Regions from separate parts of the Homo sapiens genome. Here regions 1 and 2 are each linked to region 3. Evidence: promoter capture Hi-C in 16 types of primary human blood cells and fetal thymus (Javierre and others, 2016). All regions are on one chromosome and are shown on one strand. Each heading gives the region's core, a stretch centred on a gene start or on the middle of the fragment in contact. The rest is flanking DNA. Distances are from core to core; before and after follow the strand shown. Region 1 holds the start of ST20-MTHFS (ST20-MTHFS readthrough). Region 2 has its middle 2.5 kb from the start of MEX3B. Region 3 holds the start of MESD (mesoderm development LRP chaperone).

Region 1 (4,106 bases), core at 1,601-4,100, 1.1 Mb before region 3:
ACTGCAAGGAAAAACCAGCATTTAGACAAAAAGTTTTTTCAGCAAGGCAATTTTACTTTCTGCAGAAAGGGTGCTCCTCACAGATGAAACAATGGTGACAGCACACCCGAACAAAGGAGGGAAGCAGTTTTTATCCCTTATGCAGCTTGTGTCCTGTCTCCATTGGCTGGAGCTGGACCTCACAATTTAAATTAAACCCGACTGGCTAATAACTTAAAACTTTCCTATATAGGGAAAGGCAATAGAGAACAAAGGAAAAGAAGAAGTTGCTTGCAAAAAGACTTAGAAAAGTAATAATATTTCCAAATAAGGAAGGGGCATAGGCTGCAAGCTGGAACGTGCCTGTGAGCATGTCCAGCACAAATATCTTGGTTAAAGTACAAGGACATAGAATATACTTATTCCCTTATATCTAACAGCTACATAGGATAGGGCTTAATGAAGAGTCATTAGCACAGAGCAGAGGAGGCTTGAAGGAAGTTAGTCTTTAAAAGAAACTATTATTTCTAACACTTATGATTTATTCTTTAACAAGAAAGGAAATTTCGAAAAGGAAACTTTTTACTTTCTACAGGCTGATGAGTGCAGCTAATCCTCATTATTATAAGCATCACTATTATCATCACTTGCAAGAGCCATGTGACAATATTTAGATGATTCTGGGTTCTTTTAAAGTGCATACATACTCAGGATTCCTTTGGGAGGATGCAATTTCATTTATATGAAAAACTGTCACTACCACAGTCAGCTCTAATAATATTTGATATCACCTGGTAATAAAGGTTTGTCGGCTGGGTGCGGTGGCTCACGCAGCACTTTGGGAGGCCAAGGCGGGCAGATCACGAGGTCTGGAGTTCGAGACCAGCCTGGCCAGTATGGTGAAACTCCATCTCTACTAAAAACACAAAAATTAGCTGGGCATGGGGGTGGGCACCTGCAGTCCCAGCTACTTGGGAGGCTGGGGCAGAAGAATTGCTTGAACCTGGGAGGCGGAGGTTGCAGTGAGCTGAGATCATGCCACTGCACTCCAGCCAGGGCAACAGAGCGAGACTCCGTCTCAAAAAAAAAAAAAAATAGTAAATAAAAAATAAAGGTTTGTCACCATATACTCAAGAGTACTTCTGTTATTCAAATCTCCTAACTGGGAGTTACAAATATCTCTGACTCTGCTCTTGTAGCTGTCAGAGCATAAAATGCCCTTCCCACTCTTTCCTCACTTCCAGACTCCAAAGCCTCCTCCTCAAAGTTTGGCCCCTCTACTTTGGACTACTGTTTTCTTCCCAGTTACTGCGCACTGACAGTACTTTTGTTCTCTCTTTCGGCAATTCACCATACACTTTCTAGTTTATTTATCTGCATAAAACTTAGTTCTCAACAAGACTATAACTGCCTTATGAACAGGAATCAACAGTTGAGAATCTTCAGAGTCTCCTATAACATCATGTAAGAGCTCACTAAATGTTTGATTTAAATAACTAGGCTTAAGAGTAATAGGCTGGGCATGGTGGCTCATGCCTGTAATCCCAGCTCTTTGGAAGGCCGAGGCGGGAGGATCACGAGGTCAGATCGAGGCCATCCTGGCTAACACGGTGAAACCCGTCTCTTCTAAAAATACGAAAACAAAAAATTAGCAGGGAGTGGTGGCCAGTGCCTGTAGTCCCAACTACTCGGGAGGCTGAGGCAGGAGAACGGTGTGAACCCAGGAGGCGGAGCTTGCAGTAAGCCAAGATCTCAACAGTGCTAAATGCATACATGGATTATCTTACTAAATTTTCATAACTCTATAGAGGTAAGTGCTATCATTATTTTCTCCATCATAGAGGAAGAAAGTGAAGCTCAGAATAACTTGCTCAAGGTCATACAGGCCTGGGCAAACCCAGGGCCTGAATCCAGCAAAGCTCTTAACTACCTCAGAACACTGCACAGTTCGAGCCCTGCAATACTACAGTCTATGAATGATTTCGATTTCACTAAGTTAGAAATTTGAATTTCAACAGAGACATTTTAGCTAAAAGGTAAAATTTTAAAGAGGATGAATTAAGAGAATTTCCCACAGACATCTTTATAATAAAATGAGGAGAAAAGCCTCCCATTTCCTATTTATGAAAGTGATATTAAGGTGTGTGTCACAATTTCATCAAGAAGTGGCTTATGACAATACAGCTTTGGTTTAGGTATTAAAATAGGACTCTTTTCTGCCCATAGGAGGACATGGAAATGAAGGATAGATGTGATAAATGTCAATTCAGAGCTCTGCAAAATGCCAGACTCAATTCTTGTTTTAAAATATCAGAGCCAGGGCTCTTGTTTCACCCTTGATTCTTCACACAAAACACCACCATCCTCTGACCTCTTCACACAGAGCAAGCTTTACCCCACTACCTAAAGGGGAGTGCTGATCCACATGGTCTCCCCATCCACGCTAGAAATTGATCCCAAACACCAACCGCTGCATAGACGTCGGCGACTTTGGTCTGCACCCCCCGAACTTGGTGATACCTCATCAAGCCAAACCCCTCCCCAACATCCAAAATGCCCAGACCAGCATCCGAAAGCTGGTCTCCTATACAAAGCAGAATCCCTGCCTACAAAGCAGTTTCCCACCTCCGACTCCTCCCCACGGCGAACAGCCCTTCTGGATCCAACCAACCCACCAACCCCAATAGGGCCCAGCACCCAGAGGGTCCACAATCCAGAGAAGGAGCTACAAGCCCTGTACTTGCAAGCCTCGAACCCCCAACTCCAACTGACCTCCCCTCTGCCAGAGCAAGACCACGAGTACCCGCCGAGAGCGGACCTGGCTGGCTACACAAAGCCAGGCGCCCGACCAGAGGGATCCTCCGGGACGTCCTCCGCCACCGGGGCGTCCCCGCCCAGCCCCGCCCGGCGCCCGGCGCTCACCAGCTCTCCTCCCCCTCCTCCTAGCCTGACAGACGCTCCAGGTCGTCTAGCAAGCCGCCCTCCCCCGCCGCCAGCAAGAAGGTGGCGTCTCGCAGCTCCTCGTTATTCGTCCGCCTCGGGTCCATCCGGCCCCGCCGCCCGACTTTGCGCTGAGACCCAAGGGGAAGCCCCGAGGGGACCCCGCGCCGTAGGAGGGAGTGGAGGAGCCGGCGAACCGCGATGGAGCCGGGGCCCAGCACAGCGCGAGCGGCTCCTCGGCTGTTCGTGCTGCTTCCCCAGCTTCTTCACCGGCACCTGCAGCTTCCGCACCTCCTGGTCCGCGTTCACGTTAGAGTTAACGTCCTCCATCCCGGCCCCGCTGCCTCCGCCGCCCGCGGCCCTCTCGCTCTCGCAGCAACAAGGGAAGAGCCGGAGGAAAGAGGCGTCCACGCCGCTCACTCCAGCCGAGGCCCCCGCATATAGCAGGGCCAGGCCCCGTCGCCAGGGTTCCCCCAGCGCGGGTCCCGAAGCACCGCTGGCCACAGATGAACCGCCTCCTCAGCGCAGGTCCGGGATTCGGGGAGGCAGCGCCAATATCCGGTCTCTGCAGCCATCTTCCCTCCGTCCCTCCGCCCACCGAGGGTCGGCCCTGTAGGTGACCTCAGAGCGTCGGGGATGGGCGTGGCCCCGTCGGGCGCTAAGAAGACCTAGCGCAGAGAGGACCGCCGAGCTCCCGACGGGGCGGGGCCAGGTGTGTGAGGGGCGGGGATTGGACCCGGAGGGGCGTGTCTGGACTGCCGGCGGAAGTGGAACGCGGCCTGACCTGCGACGGAAAGCCACTGCAAGCCCGGAGGCGAACAGAAGGCATTCCGCGAGCCGGGCTGAGTTGGTGAACACGGTCCTCGTTCACCCCGCCTATTGGTCTGGGCGTGTGGGGTATTCTCCACCCACTTATACGGCGTGTGGGACCGACGGGCCCGTCCTGCCCGGCTCCGGTCCGGATCTCGAGTAGGCGCTCAATGGGATTCGGGGAGACGTAGTTTACTTTGTTCAGCAAATATTTAACCGATGCCTATTTTAATGGGAGATTGTTTCCGCTGGCGGGAGCCTCAGAGACCGCCTGTGTCCTTTAAGAAACCCGAATTTCAGACAGTTAAGAGAGGTCTAAGGTCAAAATAATAATCATAATTTCTTCTTACTGGCCAGATACTATGCTAAGCCCTTTT
Region 2 (3,885 bases), core at 236-2,735, 1.1 Mb after region 3:
TCCTCAGGAAGTCCCGTTAGTGGCTCCAAATAAACCATCCGTGGAGCCAAAGCTTCCTCTGTGAGAAGAGTCTGTAGTCCGCCCAAAAGGGCGACCCGAGCCCTCCGACACGGAAAACGGGACTCCAGGTCTTGGGGCGCACGGGCAGAGTGACTCCCGGCGCGGGTTGTCCACCTGCGCGGGAGCGCACGAGACACAAAAGCACACGCCCGCCCACACTGGCAACCGCGCGCGCGCGCGCCCGCGCCTGCATTTCTGTCTCCTTGGGCAGCACTTCGCCCAACTGGCCCTGAAACTGAGGATGGGAAAGCTAAAAGCTGGCTGCCGCGCGAGCTCGGCCCGCCCGGCCGCTGGCGACCTCTGGAATGCATGGCACCAGTGTCCAGCACACGCCCGGCGCCCGGGCCGAGACCCTGCGGGTTCTGACACGCGCACGAGCGCCGCGCCGCCACCGCGGGGACGCAGGCCACAGCGCCAGCGGGCGGCGCGGGCGTGCGCGCCCGCTGTTCCCATCCCTCCCCTCCGTGCCCCGCGGCCGAGCATGCGCAGTGCGCGCGAGGAGCGGGCGGGCCCTTTAAGGCGGGCGCTGCGGAGCGCGCGCCGGCCCCGCCCGCGGCCCCGCCCCGACGGGAGGTGAGCGCTCCCTGCCCGGCCGCTCTTTGTGCGCTTCTCGGGGTGGGGGTGGCGGCAGAGGGAGGTTGCGACGGCACTTGCCGGCGAGGACGGCGAGCTGCGCCCCCTCCCGGATCTCCCAGGGACCGTCTCCGAGTGCGAGAGAGAAGGAAGGAGGATTTGAGGGGCGGGCCGGGGCGGTGCGCGCTGGTCCTCTCCGCGCGCATCCCCCTCCGCCGCCCACTAGGGCGGACGCCCCTTCGGGCCCCGCGCGCTCTGCTGTCCTTTGTTCCGGGAGCCGCCGGGCTCGCCGCGCCCTTTGCGTCCCGCTGCGGATCGTTCCGCAGAGCGGCTGGGCCCGCGGTTCATAGAGTCGCCCAAGATCCTCACAGAGGGACGTCTTCCCAAAACAATGAGGCCATGCGGCCGCAGCCGCACACGGGCTGACTGGGGAGATCTCGTGGTGCCGCGGGGCGGTCCCGGGGCTCGAAGGCAGAGGCTCCCCTAGGTGTGCCCTGCCTGACCCCGGCTACAGGAACGAGCGCTGTGGGCCTCGGTTTCTCACCCGTAAAATGAAGAAAATAATCCCCGCCTTTACCACCTCGTGGGTCGTTCGGAAGATTAAATGCGACAGTGGATGGGCGCGCGCTTACAAATCAGTAGACAGTTCCGCAAGCGCCTTTACTTTTGAGAACGCGGTGGTGCAGCTCCCTTCACCGCTTGCTTACCTGGAGCTGTCTTGGGAAAGAGGTGCTGATTATTTCCTTGGGGAAATGGGTTTAGAAGCCACTTACAGTGGTTATTTCCTCAGGATGTTTACGTCAGCTTCCCGGAGCCTGGTGTGTGTTTTTCTTAAAAAGGAATGTTCGATGGGAGGAGGCAGGTGGGAGGATGGTGCCGAGTCCTCCGTGAAAACCACCACTTAGAGCTCCAGTAGGAAATTACTGTATTCTTTTGACCCGGTTTATGGACTTGGAATCCAACTAACTTGGGAATGAGGGTTCTTGCCGAGATGGAGGGTTTTGAGTAAGGGGTCCTGGCTGGGGAGAGCCAGAGATGAGGCCCAGCCTCCCGCGCTCACGCAAGGCCTGTAAACAGAAAGCAGACTGGAAAGGCGCTTGGAGCATTTCCATCTTTTTAACACAAAGGGCTAGTTTCTCGCCTCTTAGCTCTGTTTCTTTGAAATTTCATAGCCTTCGGATTGGGCCTGCTGAGGTTTCTTTTTTTTTTCCAAGTAGAAAATATGGTGACAGTAAAGTTGTTCCTCCGCTGATAAGGAGCTGTGCACGGATAATGGGGTGTAGGGAGAGGTTGCTTCTGCTAGGGAGCTTGGCCGCTAATAGTTTCAGACCTGCCATAACTCCTTCTCCTTGCATCTACAGCGATAAGAATTCAGATGGATTAATTCTGAAACGTGTTTAAACTTAGAGGATTGGATATTTCAGAGGAGTCCCTGGGTGGCTGGGTCATTACCCGGAAGGTGAATGCAACATTTCTCCAAGGTGACATGTTTAATGTCATTCTTCCCTGCTGGATCCTGAAGGCAGGACTTGTACTTGGCTGTAACTGCCAATGTTCAATGAAATCATACATCTTCACCCACATGAAGGATAAGCTGAACCCCTTACCATAGGAATTCATGGAAAGCTGCCGATCCTGAGGTGCCCATGTTCATGTAGCCCAGGTCACCCTCCACAGAGAGGAACACTTGAGTAAAACCTATACAGAGATCCGCATGCTTTTCTGAAGACACCCACAAAAGCGAAGGCACTCTCAAGAGCATGGGAGGGTGGTGAGAGTGATAGAAGCAGTTACTATGTCTGACAGATCTAGTTTCCAGCCCCAGCTGTTCTTCAGTGTTGGCTGTCAAAAGAGGACGGCATCCAGCTTCCCACCTACCTCATAGGGTTGCTTTAGCGAGACGGATAATGATAGCAAAAGCTAACTCGTAAATTCCCAGGTACTCAGCAAATGTAGTTGGCGCTTTACTCACAGCTACTCCTTGCCTTCTCTATTTGTATACCTTACTGACTGGTCAGGATATTTTCCGACACTTGACTGCTGTTGTAAAAGTAACAATCCAGAAATTTTAATTCTCAGTTAGTGGCTTTAATAAGCCAAGATATTGTAAAACTTGCAAAGTCCGGTTCTGTTTTTCAATAGATAATACATCCTAACCCCATAGTTTCTGGATAGACTTTCCCAGGCTCCTTTAGGACCCCAGAGCTTAATTACTTTTCCTGATGCAGAACACATTCCCTAAGGACTTCTCGATGTGGCCATAATATTTTTTATTAGCACAGGAGAGAAGCTTGCAGAATGAGGTCTGGCAGTATAATAGAGAATTTCAGTTGTCATAAAATGAGAAAAAGTAAAGTTATCACACAAAAACAAGATTAATGATGAGGCAACCTTGTTTTGTTTCCAGATGTCTCAAAACTATTTTGTGCACATCTTGCTTACTTTTGCAAATTAAATAGCTTGCAAAAGAAACGGAAATCTTCCTGTGAAAACAAACACATGCTCAGTCAACTCATTTAAGATTATTGAGCACCTCCATACTGTATTATAGGCACAGAGAGAAGTATCGATTATACTGAACTGAAATGAACAAAGGTGGCAGAGGGGCAGGATAATGTCTTTTCCTTGAATACTAGTGATGTCCAAACCCAGTCACACAGAGAGATAAGTGCCCAGATAGTAGTGAGTCGGCTTAGGGTCCTAGAAGGGCTTCCCAGAGGAGGGGATACCTGAGTTGTGCTTCCAGTGAATGTGGTGTGAGAATGAATTGAGACTGGAGCCTAGCACAGTGCATAGCATCTAGCAGGAACTCCTAAATGCTTATTAAATGAGTGAGTGAGCCAAGCTGCAGCATCTTGAAGGTGTAACTTTAGGTATGTACAGGAATCGCTCAGTCTCTGGGAAGCAGCTCAAATGACACCAGCCACAATGACATGATTTTGAATAAAATTAGTAATCACAGGTGACCCTTATTAAGCACTTATTATGTGCCAATGTGCCAGGAAGTTTACAAAATGCTTTACAATACAGTATCTTGTTTAATCTTTCTAACTACTCAGAGGCAAGCACTTTTATTATCCCCACTTTACAGATGAAAATAAGTCACTTACCCAAATAAAGGCAGATTTGCCTCCAAGCAGATGAAATGAAGCTACAGGGCTCCTCACTTAACACAGACCCTTCCAAGGCCCTGGAAGAGGTCCTAGCAATATACTTACAAGATCACATGAAATCACTAAAATTTTCACAGGT
Region 3 (3,727 bases), core at 144-2,643:
GATTTCTCATGAGGTGATGTTCTCACTCTGGCAGATCAAAAGGCTTTATTTGCTGGAGTCCAAAAAGAGACAAGGAGATTGCAAGGGAGACGGTGAATGGGGACGTTCTCTCTACACTCAAATCTATCCCAATCTTTCCATCAGCTGTTGATGACCACATGAAAACACAAGCCTGCATTCTTCTAGTCAGATGCATCAGGTGGTATTTTAAACTCTTGTCTGAAAGTCTTTCCCTTCTCCCGTAACACACACAGAGATAATCACAAAATAACAAAACATCAGTGTTGGAAGGAATCTTAGGACCCATCCTAACCTCCTCATGTTGCAGATAAAGAAACCGAGGCCTAGAAACTAGACATAACCTGCCCAAGGTTCCACAGCTATGCAAGTCAACCAGGACGATACAATCACCTTAGGAAGGGGAAAAGGCAGCAATGTGGTTTTGGCCAGTAATCTTTACCTTAAAGCGTATTACACACTCCCTGTAACTGCACACTCCGGTGCGTCCAAGTGACAAACCAGAAAACTTACTCTCCTTTGAACAAAAAGCGTGAGTTTCACGATACAGAGCCATTAGCCATTGATACTTCTCCCCTCAGTAAAATAAATCCACCCACAAAAAGCACAAAATTCCCAGCAGGGACATATACCAAAATAGGAAGTCTAAAATTATACTGATTTAGAAGACAGCTGAGATAACCATTAAGGAAGACCATCTTCACTGCAACCCACTCTCCCACCCACTCACCGCAAAACAGAAGGAAATGCTCTTTAGTAGATTGGGAAAGGTCACTCTCCCTGTTTGCAGGGCTCACTGACCACAAGAATCAACGCAAAGACAACCAGGGCACTGAAGGGTGAAGGGAGAGCAAAGCTGAACAGTGAGGGGCAGATCCGTGATTGAAGTGGTTTGAGAAATGGCAGGAGGAACAGGGCACTGGAATGACAGAGGGCTGGAGCGAGGGTCAGCAGGGCGCGCGGGTCAGAGGAGGAATGGAGGGTCAACAGTGGCTTCAGTGGGTCAGTAAGGATTCAAGGCATGAGTAGAGGAGGTTAGGGGGTCAGAAAGGTCCCAAGACAGAACAGGTAAGGGGTCATAGGGAACAGGGTCCCGCACAGAGAAGAGCCGGGAGGGTGTGCGCGCGCCGCGGACCTCCCATTGCTCCAGAAGACGCGCCATGTCTGCATCATTGTAATCGCGAATATCCTTCTTCTTCTTCCGGGGAGGTGGGGTAGACTCGTCGGGCGTCCCGGGCGAGCCTTCGGCCGCGCAGGACCCAGGCGGTGGTAGCAGTAGCAGCAGCAGCAGCAGGTCAGAGGCACAAAGCAGGACCACGGCCTTGCGCGCCCACCTGGAAGCCGCCATTTTCGCTGCGCCGCGCAGCGCCCTAGACGCGCTTACCCGACCTGCGCGGGCCGGACCCCGCCTTGCACACGCCTTCCTGTCCGCCTTTCCGAGGCCCCGCCTCCCGGCCCTCGCTAGCCTACCGGGCCCCGCCCCGTACCATTTCCTAACCCCCGCCTCTGGAAGCCCCGCCCCTCCGCCATTTTGGCCCCGCCCCACTGGCTCCTCCTCTTGGTCCGGCTGAGGCGCTCTGTCCCGGCTGGGTGGGTCCCTGAGTGCTCATTTTTCGTTTTCCGTCAGAGGCCGACCTTTTTCTCTGGAACGCACAAGCCAGGTCCAAAAGTTCCTTCAGGGCCTCCAGGAACCACTAACCAACGTCCCTGTTGACCTCAGTTTCTCGCCTGTGAAATAAATTGGAACTGGAAGTTCTGGAGGCTGCCTCGGCTCTAAAAAAGCCCATTTCTGGATGTCGGACGTTTATCCTCAGTCTCTTGCAATTTCCTTTGAGAACAGCCAGTTAAAAAGAAGTGAGTGGCAGGTAGGGCAACTTTTTTCAGAAAGTCATAAATAGTTCGAGTCCACTGCTTTCCTCATCAATAAAGAGGATTCAGTTCAACCAGCTTTCAATATTTGTTTTTTTTTTCCAAAAAGATCATTACTATTCATCCAAAAAAAAAAAAGCTTGCCTTTCTTTGATTTCAACCTAATACTGTAGGCTCTAACTAATCCTTTTCAAGGCTGAATCACGCTACTTTTTGTTTCTTAAAAAGATTTTGGCCAAAGATGCTTTGAGATTCTTCTTGTTTTAAACGGCTCATCAGCTGATGTCTTTAAAATGTTTAATTACATAAGACCTTAAAAAACAAAAAACAAAAAAAACCAAAGGCCGCACGGTGGCTTAAGCCTTTATAATCCCAGCACTTTGGGAGGCTGAGGTAGGACGATAATTTGAGTTTAGGAGTTTGAGACCAGACTGGGCAATAAAGCAAGACCCGCATCTCAAAAACAACAACAAAAAACGCTTCATTCTTTATACTGCTGCACAGTTTTATTTGGTATTGTTAAATTAATAGTTTATTTTCCTATTGATGGGCATTTATTACCAATTTTTCTGCTATTACAACAAAAAAGAGCTGTAGTAAACCTTATTCAAGCCTTGTTTGGATAGGATTAGTAGGCTGCATATAAAAGAAAACTGACTTTTTAAGGTGGTTTAAACAAGATAAAAGGTTTTATTGTGATTGACTTTTCTTTCACAGAAGCAGTGTAAACTCGAAACTAGGGCTGGTATAGTGGCTTCTCAGCCATCTGGTACTCAGCCTCTTCCTCATCCTTCTATCATATTAGCCTGTGGCTTCCACCCTCAAGGTCAGAAATTCCAGGATGGCTCCTGGAGCTCCAGTCATCAAGATGACATTCAACCAGAGGAAGGGAGAAGGCAGGCCAAACCAAGCACACCTTTCAAGTGGAGTCAACTTCTTTTAAGCAGCCTACTTGAACATTGCATACATTTCTGTTTACATCTCATTGGCTGGAACCTAGCTCTCCAAGGGAGGCTGAGAAATTGTCTTCTAGCTGTATACATTGTCATCTCAAATGAAATTAGGATTGTTATAAAGGGAAAAGAATAAAGTGGAGGTTGAGTAGGCAACTACGCCTGCTTTCCTTCACTCTTAGGACCAGTGCAATTTAAATTCTCTCACACCGTAGGAGTGGCTGATATTCTACATATTCATGCATGCATCTGTATGTAAACACGCTAAGCTATGACCTTTCCTATTGACGTTGAGCAGAAACAACTCATAAGAAAAAGATTTTTTCTTTTGTGAAATCATAGGGGAAATGTCATGAGCTTTCTCCCCAGAGCACATTGCTCCACCCAGTGGCTTGGAGCCCTATCCTAGTGCAGTCATACTAAAAAACATGCACAGCTGTGGCTGATCATGTGCTCTACTGGGAGGGGTCACCCTGGTAATTCATATTGCCAGCTTCAAAGTTAAGGGGCAAACGTGTTGGGATTCTTGGCCCACATATCTAGTTATAGAGAATAAGATCATTGAAAGTTTTACAGAAATTGTTGGGAATGTGTAGAAAGTTTCAGGGCTACTGACTTTCCTCTAAGGAGGAAATCAATTCGGCATATAATCCACTGATATGAAAACATCTGGATCAATTGCATTTTCAACATTTGGATATTTGAAACTTACTTTAGTGTTTGGAACTTGATTCCATTCAACTTGGGGGGAATTTTATTTACCAAAGACCTATTGTTAACCAAGAATCAGGTGAGGCACTGATGCAAAAATGAATATAACAATATCCTTACTCTGGCAGAGCAGATAAACAATATGCAGTAAATTTCATGCAGATTACAGGAGATCC

The links. Contacts are between HindIII fragments. The CHiCAGO score rates a contact against its expected background, and 5 or more counts as called.
Region 1: a contact is called between the fragment with the promoter of ST20-MTHFS here and the fragment with the promoter of MESD in region 3, in 1 of 17 cell types (non-activated CD4 T cells). The highest score is 7.1, in non-activated CD4 T cells.
Region 2: a fragment that was not itself captured here is called in contact with the fragment with the promoter of MESD in region 3 in 1 of 17 cell types (fetal thymus); the score reaches 7.7 in fetal thymus.

Annotation. Positions count from the first base shown.
Region 1 is chr15:79,920,242-79,924,347 of GRCh38, forward strand. ST20-MTHFS (ST20-MTHFS readthrough) reads right to left here and starts at 2,851. Exons shown (of 4, transcript NM_001199760.2): 1 at 2,798-2,851. It overlaps ST20 (suppressor of tumorigenicity 20), which reads right to left and starts at 3,511. Exons shown (of 3, transcript NR_037653.2): 1 at 3,211-3,511. ST20-AS1 (ST20 antisense RNA 1) reads left to right here and starts at 2,530. Exons shown (of 1, transcript NR_028330.1): 1 at 2,530-4,106. RefSeq lists silencers at 2,669-2,778, 2,799-2,868, 2,879-2,928, 3,549-3,698 and enhancers at 3,229-3,408, 3,839-3,888, 4,090-4,106. The HindIII fragment of the contact is 4,343 bases long and covers 2,367-4,106 here.
Region 2 is chr15:82,046,544-82,050,428 of GRCh38, forward strand. No RefSeq gene overlaps it. Among named protein-coding and RNA genes, the nearest start is that of MEX3B, 2.5 kb to the left of the region's middle. RefSeq lists an enhancer at 1-724 and a silencer at 405-724. The HindIII fragment of the contact is 2,871 bases long and covers 51-2,921 here.
Region 3 is chr15:80,988,426-80,992,152 of GRCh38, forward strand. It overlaps MESD (mesoderm development LRP chaperone), which reads right to left and starts at 1,394. Exons shown (of 3, transcript NM_015154.3): 1 at 1,154-1,394. The coding sequence starts at 1,366. RefSeq lists enhancers at 475-1,089, 1,078-1,357, 1,090-1,703, 1,343-1,637 and a silencer at 1,388-1,667. The HindIII fragment of the contact is 12,917 bases long and covers 1-2,024 here.